Regions from separate parts of the Homo sapiens genome. Here all the other regions are linked to region 1. The links are contacts of gene promoters, found by promoter capture Hi-C in human tissues and cell types (Jung and others, 2019). All regions are on one chromosome and are shown on one strand. The core of a region is centred on a gene start or on the middle of the fragment in contact, and the rest is flanking DNA. Distances in the headings are between cores, read along the strand shown.

What was found. The method cuts DNA at HindIII sites, captures the fragments that hold promoters and counts their contacts. A contact is called where the count stands out against the background at its distance.
Region 2: a contact is called between a fragment that was not itself captured here and the fragment with the promoter of APBA3 in region 1, in 1 of the 25 tissues and cell types used here (dorsolateral prefrontal cortex).
Region 3: the fragment with the promoter of PLEKHJ1 here is called in contact with the fragment with the promoter of APBA3 in region 1 in 1 of the 25 tissues and cell types used here (hippocampus).
Region 4: the fragment with the promoter of KDM4B here is called in contact with the fragment with the promoter of APBA3 in region 1 in 1 of the 25 tissues and cell types used here (heart right ventricle).

The regions. Positions count from the first base shown.
Region 1 is chr19:3,760,141-3,763,776 of GRCh38, reverse strand. It overlaps APBA3 (amyloid beta precursor protein binding family A member 3), which reads left to right and starts at 2,085. Exons shown (of 11, transcript NM_004886.4): 1 at 2,085-2,241; 2 at 3,476-3,636. The coding sequence starts at 3,513. MRPL54 (mitochondrial ribosomal protein L54) reads right to left here and starts at 1,095. Exons shown (of 3, transcript NM_172251.3): 1 at 959-1,095. The coding sequence starts at 1,076. LOC105372248 (a long non-coding RNA gene) reads left to right here and starts at 1,137. Exons shown (of 3, transcript XR_936268.1): 1 at 1,137-1,219; 2 at 1,571-1,628; 3 at 1,923-2,023. RefSeq lists an enhancer at 732-1,221 and a silencer at 1,883-2,200. The HindIII fragment of the contact is 13,428 bases long and covers 1-3,636 here.
Region 2 is chr19:5,627,807-5,631,442 of GRCh38, reverse strand. The region is part of intron 2 of SAFB (scaffold attachment factor B); the gene reads right to left. Among named protein-coding and RNA genes, the nearest start is that of SAFB, 6.5 kb to the right of the region's middle. The HindIII fragment of the contact is 7,366 bases long and covers 1-3,636 here.
Region 3 is chr19:2,234,494-2,238,129 of GRCh38, reverse strand. PLEKHJ1 (pleckstrin homology domain containing J1) reads left to right here and starts at 1,801. Exons shown (of 6, transcript NM_018049.3): 1 at 1,801-1,975; 2 at 2,140-2,207; 3 at 2,302-2,368. The coding sequence starts at 1,882. It overlaps SF3A2 (splicing factor 3a subunit 2), which reads right to left and starts at 1,306. Exons shown (of 9, transcript NM_007165.5): 1 at 1,229-1,306. MIR6789 (microRNA 6789) reads left to right here and starts at 2,204; the gene lies at 2,204-2,301. RefSeq lists silencers at 1,021-1,120, 1,731-2,360 and enhancers at 1,541-1,590, 1,169-1,777, 2,386-2,994, 2,997-3,576. The HindIII fragment of the contact is 10,839 bases long and covers 1-3,636 here.
Region 4 is chr19:4,967,384-4,971,019 of GRCh38, reverse strand. It overlaps KDM4B (lysine demethylase 4B), which reads right to left and starts at 1,907. Exons shown (of 23, transcript NM_015015.3): 1 at 1,790-1,907. RefSeq lists an enhancer at 418-467 and silencers at 1,734-2,033, 2,344-2,443. The HindIII fragment of the contact is 14,440 bases long and covers 1-3,636 here.

The sequences.
Region 1 (3,636 bases), core at 836-3,335:
CCATGCCCCACTAATTTTTGTATTTTTAGTAGAGCTAGGGTTTCACCATGTTGGTCAGGCTGATCTTGAATTCCTGACCTTGTGATCCACCTGCATCAGCCTCCCAAAGTGCTGGGATTACAGGCGTGAGCTACCGCGCCAGGCAATTTTTTTTTTTTTTTATACAAACAGGGTCCTGCTATGTTGCCCAGGCTGGTCTCGAACTCCTGGGTTCAAGCAATCGATCCTCCCTCCTTGGCTTCCCAAAGTGCCGGGAATAAAGGTGTGAGCCATCATGCCTGGCCTCGAAATCACTTTAAGTGGGATTTGGACACAGCATTAAGTAACTTTAAGTGGGATTTGGACATAGCATTAAGTAACACCGATGCTTGGAATGACCAAGTCATTCAAGTTATATTTTGTCTGCTATGTGTCTGTCTTTAAGGCCGAACATTGGACAATTTCCCCCTTTCAACAAAGGAGATCAGGCAAGGCTGTATCCAGCTAAACCTTAATAACCTTGTTTTGTTCTTGCTGAAGTGGCCAATTAAACGGGCTCCATAATTTCTTTGAATGTTTGGTAACGTCTTGGCCAAGGTTACCCAGCGATTTGGAGGCAGGCAGAGAAACAGAACTGGAACCCAAGTTCATGACCTCCCCAGACTCCCTTCAAATCCTTTCCAACCCGCGCCTGCGCAGTGAAACGCGTGGTCTCCACGTAACCACATCCTCCTCCCAGGCCGCTCCGCCCCAAGCTGGCGCCTGCGCCCTGGGTCCAATCGCTACAGTATCTCCGAGCCAGACGCCCGAGCTCCAAGCGGCGCTGGGTCCCTCAAACTGCGCCTGCGCATACAGCCTGGCATCCGCCTCTCTGCGCTTGCGCATCAGTTCTAGCACCACCTCCCCAACCACCGCCTGCGCACTGTCAATTCCTCAGTGCACCCACCGTCCCCATTTGGTTCCTCTTAACCCAGCTCACCTGGTTTCTTGGCATAATCCCGGGCCAGGAGTCTTCCGGAAGTGGCGGGGTTTAGGAGCTCCCAGGCCCCCCAGCCGGCCCACGTCCGGGTAGCCCCGAAAAGGCGTTTGGTCGCCATGACGTATTGCGGGCAGCTTGCAAGTGCACGTTTCCGGAAGACGTCAGTGGCCCAAGGGTGTTTGGGAGTTGTAGGCCCCGTGGAAGTGTAGGCCCCGTGGAGGTGTCTGGGAAATGCGGTCTCCCAAGCTTTCATAATCTATGGTGATTTCTTCAGACTTTTGTAGACATACACAGTTACTATAGGAGGAGGCGTTCAAGGGATATTTCATTGACTTCTTGCCCTTCTTCAATTACATAACATTTACTAAAAATATCACACTTTATATGTTCCTGATTCCATCCAATGAGTAATTATTCAAAGCTTTAAAGTTAAAAAAAGAAGATTAACAATGAGTCTAATATACTCCAGTAGGGCTGGAGTCTAATCACTGTTAATTTTTATAACATTATATTTTTAAAATTATATATAACATATATAATACATATAATATATAGTATGTTTTATATATAATATATAAATTAATAATATATATTTTATATATTCTTTTCCAGCTCTACTACTGCTAAATCCTTAACCCGCTTGATCTAATTTAATCCTCACAATTGAGAGGTAGGTACTATTTTTTCCCCAGCTTATAATGAGGAAACTGAGTTCTCAGGGAGGTAAAGTTCCCAGGCCGACCCCAAATCCATGGTGCACCTATGTGTCTCCCTACTGTGAGCCAAACCGAAAGTCCGTCTTTAACAGGGTCTCCACGACGCTTCCGGTGCCTCAAGGTCCCAAGGAAACCACCTCTCACACTTCTTTAATATTTCCCAACCCCACTTCTCCCCATCTGCCATCCTTTGGAATAATGAACACAGCCCCCAGAGCCAGGCAGTGATTATTAACCCTATTTTGCAGGAGAACAAACAGGTCCTGGGGCCAGCCGGGGCAGTCTGCGGGCCGGGAAGCCTGGGATTCGAACTCCCCTCCAACATCTGCAGTTGTCCCAGCGCCCCCGCGTGGCGAGGCTGGGTGGGAGAACTACATTTCCCAGCAGGCCTCGCGAGGCCGCGCATGCTCAATGGGCCAGGGCTCTGCGCGGATAGAGGAGCGGGCGCCGGGACCGGGAATCCCCGAGCTGCGCCTTCTGGGGACGCGGCCCGGGCTACGTCGGGGCCGTCCGTGGGGAGCGGGGTCCTGGAGGCTGCGCGGGGCTGAGGCGGCCTCGATTTGGGAAGTGAGTGTCCTCGAGGTGCAGAGCGCAGTCTGAGTCGGCGCTTGAGGTCTTCGGTCTGAGGGGGGACTAGGGTCTGGGCTTGGGGCTGGGTCCTGAAGTCGGGGTCTGAGTCTGGAGTCGATCTTGGGGTAGCATTGGAGGTTTGGAGACTGGGGTCCGCCTTATGGCGTCTTGGGTCTCTGGTATTAAGTCCAGGGTCCTGGGTCTAAAGTTCTGGATGGAGGTATTGGGGGTTGAGGTCATGGGACTGGGGTCTTGGGTCTGGGGTCTTGGGGAACTGCCTCTGACCAGTCGGTAGAGTCAGGGTGTGAGGTCTGGGTCTCCAGCCTGGGTTCCGCGTCTTGAGGGAGGAGGACCTGGAAGAACCAGGGCTGGAGTGAACAGACTCCATTAGTTGAGAGAGGTCTGGGATGACACAGGGGCTCGGGAAGCCACTGCCTCACACCTCCCCATTCTGTGGCTCAGTTTCTTCATCTGTAAAATGGGAATCCTAACTTCCTTGCAAGGGTTAGTGGGTATTAAATTATGTGCCCTGTATGAACAGTACCCAGCTAGAGCCTAGCACCGGATAGGCAGCCGGGAAACCTCAAGTTTTTTGTTTTTCGGGTTTGTTTGTTTTTTTTAAGACAGGGCCTCACTCTGTCACCCAGGCTGGAGTGCAGTGGCACAATCAAGGCTCACTGCAGCCTCTGCCTCCCCTGGTTCAGGTGATCCTCCCACCTCAGCCTCCCAAGTAGCTGGGACTACAGCCTACACCACCACCCCTAGCTAGTTTTTTTTTTTTTTTTTGGAGATAGTCTCGTCTGTCGCCCACCTTGGAGTGCAATGGCGCGATCTCAGCTCACTGCAACCTCCGCCTCCCGGGTTCAGGCGATTCTCCTGCCTCAGCCTCTTGCGTAGCTGGGATTACAGGTGCCTGCCACCACACCTGGCTAATTTTTTGTATTTTTAGTAGAGACGGAATTTCACCATGTTAGTCAGGCTGGTCTCAAACTCCTGACCCCATGATCTGCCCGCCTCGGCCTCACAAAGTGCTGGGAATTACAGGCGTGAGCCACTGTGCCCGGCCTTAATTTTTTGTATTTTTTGTAGAGAGAGGGTCTTGCTCTGTTGCCCAGGCTGATCTTGAACTCCTGGGTTCAGTCAGCCCTTCTGGGCCTCCCAAAATTCTGGGATTACAGGCATGAGCCACTGCACCCGGGCGAAACCTCAGTGCTGACTCTCTCTCTTTCAGCTGCCTGAAGATGCCGGCCTAAGCCTGGAGTCCAGGCATGGACTTCCCCACAATTTCCCGATCCCCTTCGGGGCCTCCAGCCATGGACTTGGAGGGGCCCAGGGACATTCTTGTGCCTTCGGAGGACCTCACCCCTGACAGCCAGTGGGACCCTATGCCAG
Region 2 (3,636 bases), core at 810-3,309, 1.9 Mb before region 1:
TCAGATATCAAAATGTACTGTAAATTTCTAGAATAAAACTGATTACAAGAAGCAAAACAAAACAACAAATGAGACACAAAAGAGCTAGTATTGCATGGCTCCATTTTACATGAAGTTCTAGAATGGGTAAAACTAATATCTGGTGAAGTAATCACAACAGCGACTTTTATTTTTGCAGGGGCTGGGAGGGGAGACGCACTGGGAGGGGCAGAAGTGATCTTTCTGATGACAAATGTTTCTTTTCTTTTTTTTTGAGACACAGTCTTGCACTGTTGCCCAGGCTGGAGTGCAGCAGCATGATCTCAGCTCACTGCAACCTCCGCCTCCCAGGCTCAAGTGATTCTCCTGCCTCAGTCTCCCGAGTAGCTGGGATTACAGGCATCCGCCACCATGCCCAGCTAATTTTTGTATTTTTAGTAGACGGGGTTTCACCATGTTGGCCAGGCTGGTCTCGAACTCCTGACCTCAGGTGATCTGCCCGCCTCAGCCTCCCAAAGTGCTGGGATTACAGGCATGAGCCACCACGCCCAGCCTAAATGTTTCATGTTTTCATCCCTACCTACCTCACACCACATGCAAAATACATTCTAAATTAATTAAACCTCCAAATGTAAAATGTAAAAATAAAACCATAAATATTATTCTTTCTATATATAACAGAGTTATACATATAGTTTTTTTTTTTTTTGAGACGAAGCTTCACTCGTCGCCCAGGCTGGAGTGCAGTGGCGTGATCTCGGCTCACTGCAACCTCTGCTTCCCGGGTTCAAGCGATTTTCCTGCCTCAGCCTCTCAAGTAGCTAGGATTACAGGCGCTTGCCACCACACCCAGATAATTTTTGTATTTTTAGTAGAGACAGGGTTTCACCATGTTGGCCAGGCTGGTGTTGAACTCCTGACCTCAGGTGATCCACCTGCATCGTGGGATTACGGACGTGTGCCACCGCACCTGGCCTTACAGTCATATTTTTAATAATTTAAAAGCAAAGAAGTCCTTTTAAAGCGTAACATAAAATCTAGAAGCCTAGTGATCAAAATACCACAAGTCGAATCAGATTAAATTGAATGACAGATTAAAACAATAGAAACATTTTATATGAGTCTTTATAACTCAATAAGACAAACAACCCAGCACAGAAATCGGCAAAGGGCATGAAAAGGCCATTCAGACGACACAAATGTCCAATTATCAGAAGAGTATAATCTGTGAAGAAATGCAAACGAAAATCTCACCTGCAGAAAAATGCAGATAAATACAATGAAATACTTTTCTTCTATATAACAGGCAACAAGGTAACAGGCAAACAAGGTAAGTTTGATGTTGAGTTTAGTGAAATAGGCACCGTCACCCATTGTTGGTAGGGTACAACCTGGGACAGCTTTTTGTTTTTGTTTTTGTTTTTGAGACAGCCTCACTCTGTCGCCAAGGCTGGAGTGCAGTGGCACTATCTTGGCTCAATGCAACCTCAGTCTCCCAGGTTCAAGCTATCTTCTTGCCTTAGCCACCTGAGTAGCTTGGATTACAGGCGCCCACCACCACACCTGGCAAATTTCTGTATTTTTAGTAGACGTGGGGTTTTGCCATGTTGGCCAGGCTGATCTTTTGATCCGCCCACCTCAGCCTCCCAAAGTGCTAGGATTACAGGCGTGAGCCACTGAACTTGGCCGGGACAGCTATTTGTAAACTAGCTATGTGAAAATAAAGGGCCATATCCTTGGAGTCTAGAATTCTCCTTTCACTAAGTTATCAAAAATTATATTACTTTGACCACACAAAGGTATTTATCTCTGGTTCGTGCAAACACTGAATGTTGGAAGTACCGAGTGATAATTGGAAATAAAAATCTCCAAACGTCTAGTAATAAAAAGACTGATGGGCTAAATTGTGTATTTATTCATACAGAAGATTATTAGCCTGTTAAAAAACAGTGAGATTTTGTATAGCAAGATCACGGGTTTTTTTAATGAAAAAAATATGCATACAGGTGTGTGCACATACCTATATATTTACTTTTTTCCCCCTCTCACTCTGTGCCCAAGCTGGAGTGTAGAAGCACACTCATGGCTCACCGCAGCCTTGACCTCTTGGGCTTAAGCAATCCTCCTACCTTGGCCTCCCTAGTAGCTGGGACTACAGGTGTGTGCCACCATGCCCAGCTCATTGACTTTTATTTAACTTTTTGTTTTTCTAGACACAGGGTCTTGCTCTGTAACCCAGGCCTAAGTTTACTTTTAAACATTGTACATACACACACAGTCTGGAGAAGTATGCCTAACTTTTAGTAGTGGGCTGTCCCGACTGTGAACAACTTCTGCTTTTTACTCCCATGCACGTATTTTAAAACCTGCCGGGCGCAGTGGCTCACAACTGAAATCTAAACGTTTTGTGGGGCTGAGGTGAAAGCACTGCTTGAGGCCAGGAGTTCAAGGCTGCAGCGAACTATGACTGCGCGACTACCCTCCATCTGAGTGACAGAGTGAGAACCCACCTCAAAAACAAAACAAAAACAGCAACAAAAGCCTGTAGTACAAGTATTTGCTTTTATCAGAAGAAAAAGGAAAACAAAAAAGGAGATCCACAGGCTCTGTTTTTTGCTTTTATTATTTCTTTCTCCATTGATTTTCCAGGACTCTTTGCCTTGGCAGAAGTATACTTGAGTAAAGGCAAAAACACGCAATGTATCATGAGCCACAGAAGTGACTTCATTCTGCTGTTCTCCCAGCACTTACCCCAAACACTGTGGCTGACACTGGGGCCTGACTCTCAGATATTTAAACCCAGTACTTCACCACCAAGTATTAGTTATTATCTCATTTAGTTTTGGGCCCTGAGAACCAGGCCTTCAATTACAGGTTGGGCAACCCTATCTGAAACTGAAACCTTCTGAGCACTGACATATTGCCACAAGTAGAAAATTCCACACCTGATGTGTGGAATTAGTGAAAGTTTTGTTTCATGCACAAAATTATAAAAAATATGGTATTAAATTATCTTCAGGTGTATAAGAAACAAATTTCTTGTTTAGATTTGGGCCCCAATCCCAAGATTATCTCATTATGCGTACGAAAATACCGCACAAAATCCAAAAAATGAAACCCTTCTGGTCCCAAGCATTTCAGATAGGGAAAACTCTACATGAACCAAGAGAACATTCGGTCTACAAGCCCAGCTTCAGCTGATTCTTTTTTTTAGGGGGATGGAGTCTTGCGGTCGCCCAGGCTGGAGTGCAGTGGTGCGATCTGGGCTCAGTGCAACCTCCACCTCCTGGGTTCAGGCAATTCTCCTGCCTCAGCCTCCTGAGTAGCTGGGATTACAGGAGCCCGCCACCACACCTGGCTAATTTTTATATTTTTAGTAGAGACGGGGTTTCATCATGTTGGCCAGGCTGGTCTCGAACTCCTGACCTCAGGTGACCAGTCCGCCTCAACCTCCCAAAGTGCTGGCATTACAGGTGTGAGCCACGGCGCCCTGCCTCAGCTGATTCTTTCTTAAGCCAATAGTTGAGTGTTACCAAGTTAAACCATTGAAGGGGAAAGAAAGATAAACAAGACACAGCCCTAGTCCTCATCAATCTGCTCTTGACAGAAGGCAAGATGACATAAATATTAAACCAAGGGGTAAGGAACTATGCCACG
Region 3 (3,636 bases), core at 552-3,051, 1.5 Mb after region 1:
ATGGCTTGAGCATGGGAGTTTGAGGCTGGAGTAAGCTGTGATTGCACCACTGCACTCACTCCAGCCTGGGTGACAGAGCAAGACCCTGTCTCAAAACAAACAAAAAACCGATGACGACCAGGGGAAATGAGCTTAAGAATTGAGGAAAAGTGGCCTCTGGGACCTGGGACTAGACCATTGAGAAGGAATTAGTTTTTCGTGGCAACACCGTTCTCTCCTTAACCTAGCCAACAACCTATTTTCCAGAGCTCCGCCTGGCTGTTTGGTGTCGTCCAAGGATACACAAGAACAACGGTCACAGCGGGGTGCACCTGCAAAATGGGGCCAGCTAACGTGTTCTGGTCGCCTTTGGCATGATGTTGAAGCCGTCACTCCCATTTTAAGGGAACTGAGGCTCACAGGAATTACATCACAGAGCCCCAGTCAACTAACAGGTATAGATGAGCATACAGAAGCGTTCTCGGCTACAAGGAAGGCGGCCGAAACCATTTCAGCCGCGATCCCGATTCGACCCCAACGAATCTTGGTTGTTTCTTTTTTATTTTGTCAAACAGGGTCTTGCTCTGTTGTCCAGGCTGGAGTGCAACGGCACAATCACAACTCACTGCAGCCTCGACCTCCTGGACTCAAGCGATCTTCCCGCTTCAGCCTCCAGAGTAGCTGGGACTACAGGCGCGCGTCACCAACCACGCCCGGCTAATTTTTTTTTTTTTTTTTTTTGCAGTGATGGGGTCTCGCTATGTTGCCCAGGCTGGAGTGCAGTGGTGGGATCATGGCTCACTGCAGCCTCGACATTCCGAGCTCAAGCGATCCTCTCGAGTAGCTGGGCCTACAGGTACAACCACCACTCCTGGCTAATTTTTTAAAATTTTTTGTAGAGATGGGGGTCTCGGTGTGTTGTCCAGGCTGGTCTCGAACTCCTGGCCTCAAGCGATCCTCCCGCCAAGGCCTCCCTGAGCAGTGAGATTACAGGCGTGAGGCCCCGCGCGCGGCCTCCCAACAGGAGTTTGGAAATAGAGTTCCTGGCGGGCCCGACCCTCCAGGCCCGCCCAGCGCGGGGCCTCAGGATGCACAAGGCCGGACGCTCACGGGAGGAGGGAGGGGAGCGACGCCGCCGCCCCACCCTCGGCCCGCGGCCTGTCGCAAGCGCCTCTCTCCTACGTCCGCTGTCCCCCAGGGAACCCCCGGTCCGCGTCGGCCGCCGCCCTCAACCGCCTCTACTCCTCACCAGAGCCCAAGGCCGCGTTATCTCCTCCTCGTTTCGCCACCTCCACGACTTCGTTTGGCGAACGGCGGGCAAAGAAAGCACTTCCGGGGCAAATGAGACGGGCCCTCTGGTGTGCGCATGCCTGGCCCGCCCAGCGGCGTGAGTCAGAGGGTCCCGAGGCGCGAAGGAAAAGGCTGGAGGGGGAGAGGCTGAAAGCGCGGCCTGGAAGGCAAACTGCGCGTGCGCACAACGCTCTCAACGAACCCTCGGTCCGCTGCGGCCGCACGGGGCCAACTTTCGCGAGGGAGCGGCTGACACTCTCCGGGCGACGTTATCGCTCCCTCCGCCTGCGCCTGGCCGCTCTAGAAAGGGGTGCCAGCCATCGCTGGGGTGCCTTGATTCTGTTCCACCTTGGTCCGGTTTATTTCAGTTTAATGGTTATGTAACAACGGTCCGTCTCTCCTACCAACCGGTACCCCGCCCACGCCAGCAGCCACGGGTCGCCAGCGCCACGCAGCGGAGGCGGGCGGCATGGCTGGCCCAAGGTGCGCAGGCGCACTAGCCCTGGGGGTGCTTCCGTGTCTGCGCCCTGAGACATTTTTGGCGCCGGCCCCAGCCTGAGCGGGGACGGCGGCCGGGAGGGCGCGGCCCGGGTTCCCGTTCCCCGCGGAGCCATGCGGTACAACGAGAAGGAGCTGCAGGCTCTGTCCCGGCAGCCGGCCGAGATGGCGGCCGAGCTGGGCATGAGGGGCCCCAAGAAGGGCAGCGGTGAGCGGGACCCGGGAGACCGAGACAGTGCCAGGGGCGGGAGGCCGGGGCCGGGGTCTGGGCGGGGGTGCCGGAGGCCGGAGTCCGGGTCGGGGCGCCGGGGACGGGAGGCCGGGGTCCGGGCGGGGGCTGCCTGCGCCCCTGAGTGCGCGCTGTGCCCGCAGTGCTGAAGCGGCGGCTGGTGAAGCTGGTGGTGAATTTCCTCTTCTACTTTCGGACAGACGAGGCCGAGGTAGGGGCGTCCCGGGCGCGCGGGCGGGTCCCAGGCTGGGCCCCTCGGAGGCCGGGTGCTCACTGCCCCGTCCCGGCGCCCGTGTCTCCTCCAGCCCGTCGGAGCCCTGCTGCTGGAGCGCTGCAGAGTCGTCCGGGAAGAGCCCGGCACCTTCTCCATCAGTGAGTGGGGCTAGGGAAGCCAGCGGCGCTTCCCGCAGCCCGGGGCACCCGCAGCGCCGCACTTTCCCCTCCCCGGGCGCCCAAGGTCTCCTCTGTGTCCCCAGCCTGGCGCCACCCTCCTCAAACACAAGAGTGCATTGTCCACGGGCAGCTCAAGGTCAAGTTCTCCTGGCGGGCACCACCCTTCCCACCTGCCGAGTCCACTTAAGCTTGGGTCCCTCCCAGACTCTGCTCTTTGTTCCCTGTGGGCCCAGGCTGTACTTACAGGGCAGGTGGGCCAGCCCCACCCAAAGCGTTTCCCCAGCTGCCAAGAGTAGCATGGGTCTAGCATTGTTATATGGCCCCGGGCTGGAAATCCCAGGTGGGGGTAGGAGGAGTGAGAGGGGGGTGTTCTCCTGGGTCTTAAGAGATTCCCTTCTGCGGGGAAAGATGGAGTCCCTGCTAGTTTGCCCAGAGTGGCTGTCAAAATTCCACAGGCCAGGTGGCTTAAATATCAGAAACATTCTCTACAGTTCTGGAGGCCAGAAATCCTAGATGAAGGTGTGGGTGGGGCCGAATCCTTCTGAGGCCGAGGGGAATCTCCCAGTTCCTAGTGGTGGCCAGTATCCTCCAGGTTCCTTGGCTTGTGGAAGCGTCACCTTGTCCTCCTTGCATCACGTCTGTGCCCACATTTCCCCTTCTACACAGACGCCAAGCAGAATTTAGGGCCCACCCTGACAACCCCTTTTTACTTCACTTTATTATTTTATTTGCTTATTTTTTGAGACAGGGTCTTGGTATGTCGCCCAGGCTGGAGTGCAGTGGTGCAATCTCGGCTCCCTGTAACTTCCCCCTCTCGGGTTCAAGTGATTCTCCTGCCTCAGCCTCCCGAGTAGCTGGTACTACAGGCACGCGCCACCATGCCCAGCTAATTTTTGTATTTTTAGTAGAGACGGGGTTTCGCCATATTGGCCAGGCTGCTCTCGAACTCCTGACCTCAGGTGATCCTCCCACCTCGGCCTCCCAAAGTGCTGGGATTACGGTCTTGAGCCACCGTACCCGGCCCTCTTTATTTTTGAGACAGGATCTTTTGTTTCCGAGGCTGGAGTGCAGTGGCGTGATCACAGCTCACTGCAGCCTCAACCCCCTTGGCTCAAGCAGTCCTCCCACTTCTGACTCCGGAGTGGCTGGGCCTACAAGGCCCCACCACCACACCTGGCTAATTTTTGTTTTTGTAGAGATGGGGATTTTGCCATGTCACCCAGGCTGGTCTCGAACTCCTGAGCTCA
Region 4 (3,636 bases), core at 658-3,157, 1.2 Mb before region 1:
GACACCCGTCTGTGCGGCAGAATCTCCGTTACCCCCTTTTCCTCCCCAGCGGTGACCTCCTCTAGGCCAGGACAGTCTGACCCGTCCTGGTGTCGCCGGCTCAAGGAGGGGGAGCGCCCGGACCTGCCAGGTGTCCAATCAGACACACGGAGACGAGGCTGGCAAGTCCCAGAAATCCTCGGCTCAGACAGAAGTTGACTCTACCACGGCTTTACGCTCCGACCTTCAGGGTTTCAAAACATAAACTGCAAAGCGGAGAGAGGATGCCCACTGCTTCAGCAGGGGCTGCAGGAGAAGGCTGACCCCGTGTGTTGACAAACCCTCCTGGTGGCTCATAAGGAAGCTATTATTGGAGAATTAGGGGAGTCATTAGCTCCCATAACGGCAGTGATAAAAGCCCATAGGAGTCGTCTAATGAGCCTGCTTTAGGACTGGTGCTGTTTTTAGGAGCATTCTCCAGCCCGGGGACATTCTGATAAATGGCCATTGAGGCAGAGGACTGGGGCAGGGCACCGATCCCTTGAATTCAGTCCAGTATCCAGAGATCCCAAGACAGTGCAGGCACCCGGTGGGACCCAAAGGAACTTGCTGAATACACGCCCCAGCCAGAAACACATGGAAAAAGACGCTCTTCACATATGACAGGATCACTAGGCTCCACGGAGCTGAACCACCTTCTCACTAGTTTCACAACTCGGGGAACACTTCCTCACAGGGTGCTGGTAAATTATTAAAACAGAAGCATCCTCCCCCAAGCAAACAGATGGGATGCACCCAAAAGCAGTCCATGCCTCCACTGCCCCCAGGGGCGGAAAACATGCCCCTTAAAACCTTCCACCGTGCCCAGGTGGACAGAGTCCCCCGTCCTGCCTGATTGTCATGGCCACCACTGAGCGCAGACCTGGGCCCTGGCAGACCCCAGGTCAAGCAGATTTCAGAGCGAGTCCGTCCCCAGCTCCCAGGGGGATGTCCACGGGGGACACAGAAAAGGGGTCTCGGCGGAAGCAACTCCTCAATTCATTTCTCTAGAGCAGGGGCTTCGTTCGAGATGGCGATCAGGCTGGAAGGGGGAGGGACGGAGAGACTCGTGGAGGCTGCCGTTGCATAGCAAGATGATTTTTTTCTAAAATCCAGATTGCATATGCTTATGGCGGGGTGGGGGTTTCGGGTACGTACAGGGGGGCAAGTTTGGAAGCTACCAAGGCATAGCAGGTTGACCGGAGGTGGGGGCAGTGCAGGAGCAATGATAGGCATTTAGGGGGCATCCCTGGGTGTCCAGCTGGGGGGCTTCCCCTTAGCCCCCCTGGCGCCCAAAGGGCCAGAAACGCAGGCGGGGGTTACCCAGGGGCTGGGGTCTTTTTCCTTTTTCTTGCTTTCTTTCAAAAATAATAATAATAATAGGCCGAGGCTTGTCCCGGGTGATAAAAGGGCCCGGCCGGGGCCACCCACGCTGTCATCTTTTGTGCGGGGCGCCGGGGCCGTCTGTGCCCAGCCCCCGCGCGCCCCCGGCCCGGGAAGGGGCCCCCGCTCCCGCCCCTGGGCGCGCCCCGCCATTGTCCGGCCCCGCCGCCCCCGCCCGAAAACCAGCGGGCGCCCCCGGGCCGGGCGGTTAACGCCCCAACCGCCCCGCCGGCCCGGACAAAGCGCGAGGCCCGGCCCGAGCAGGCCGCGCCCGAGGCCTGGGCCTCGAGTCCCGGGCGCGCCCGCAGCCCCGAGCCGCGACGCGGGGGCGGCCATGGCGGCGGGGTCCGCGCTCGGACACGGCCGGGCGGCCTCCCCGTGGGCTCACCTGAGGCGGCGTGCGCGGCCCGGTCCGGGAGCAGCGGCGCGCTCTCCCCCGCCCTCGGCGTCGCACCCCCAGGCCCCGCTCGGGCCGGGCCCCGCTCGGTTGCTGGCGACCGAGCCCTCCGCAAGCGCTCGCGGGGGGGCTTATAAGGCCGCGCGCCAGCTCCGCCCCGACTGCCATTGGCTGCCGGATCCACGCCCGAGCGCCCATTGGCCGGAGCTGACAGCTCCGCCCCTCCCCTCCGCCGGGCCCATCAACACCGCACGGCCCGCCCACCGCGCGCCGCGATTGGGCGGGGACAAACGCCGGCCTCGCCTCTTCATTGGCAGACCGGCGGGGACACGCCGGCGCCCACCCACGTGCCCGCTGACCGGCTCTGTTCTCATTGGAGGGGGCGCACGCCAGCCAAGGCTGCCGCGACCAACCCGACGGCAGCTGGGCCTTGGATTGACAAGGGAGCCTCAGGGCCCGCCCGACGACCGCACAGAGAGGAGCCAGTATTGGCTTGAGGGGCCAGCCCGAGGCGCGGACAGGCTGGGGCAGGTGCCAATCACTGCCCGCAAGCTCCGGGCCCCGCCCTGGTTATCAGGCGGCGGCTGAGTACGTGAGACCCAGCACAGCATCAGCACCGGCCGGGAACGTGCAGGCTGGAGGTTCGAAACCCGTGGCCGGAATGTGGGCTTAGCGTTCCCCAATTTGCAAAGTGCCAAGCAAGGAGACATAGCGATCCGTTTTGCAAAGGAGGAGAACCGAGAACATAGGGTAAAGCAGCAAGAGCCTCCACCCCGCCACCGTAGGTCTATTCCCATCACAATCAACAAACCTTTGCCAAGGGGCAAGGCCTTCGGAATAGTTAGGGTCCCTCTCCCCGAGTTCCCTAAAATGTATGGGAGAGAATGAGCTTTGGTGCTTTCTGACCTGGATTCAAAGCTAAGCCGGGCCCCATGCCTCACTGTGGTTGACCTCCAGCAAAGTAACCTCGCTGAGTCTGTTTCCAACTGTGCAATGGATATGATGGTAGTGGCCACACCCCGTCTACCCGCCTCTTGAGAATGTTGCAAGGATTAAGTGGGATGAGGCACGGAGAAAGATTTGACCCTGTGACTTCACAAAATGAGCATTCATTGTGTACTGGACCACGCAGGGGTGTGAGGCATGCCCCCATTTGGAGTGGCAGGAGTGTAAATTGGGCAATTTGACATTTTCTAATAACATTCTAAGTGCATCCACCACCCGATAACCCAGCCAGCAGTTCTTCCTGGAGGTGATGTACCCAGAAAAAAGGTCTGGAGCTTACACAATTCAAGAATGCCGGCGGCAGGGCTGTCTGCAACTGTTTCCAATGTTTTGCACTAACTATCCATCAGTGGGGGATTAGAGAAGTAACTTAATAGCAATCAGTACTCTGGAATACTTACTATGTAGCAATTGAAAAGGAGGCCAGGCCCGGTGCTGTGGCTCGGGCGACTCACACCTGTAATCCCAGCACTTTGGGAGGTCGAGTCGGGTGGAACACCTGAGGTCCAGAGTTCGAGACCAGCCTGGCCAACATGGCAAAAACCTGTCTCTATTAACAAATACAAAATTAGCCAGGCATGGTGGCGCATGCCTGTAATCCCAGCTACTCCAGAGGCTGAGGCGGAGGTTGCAGTGAGTCGAGATCACTGCACTTCAGCCTGGGCAACAGGGTGAGACTCTGTCTCAAAAAAGGAAAGAAAAGAAAAAAGAGAAGGCCGATCTGTTTGCAAACATGAAATATCTCCCAACCGCTGAGCTAGGGACAGTGGTCCAGAATCCTGTACTCAATAAAATAAATATGGAAACACACACAGAAACCGGTATCATGAGGT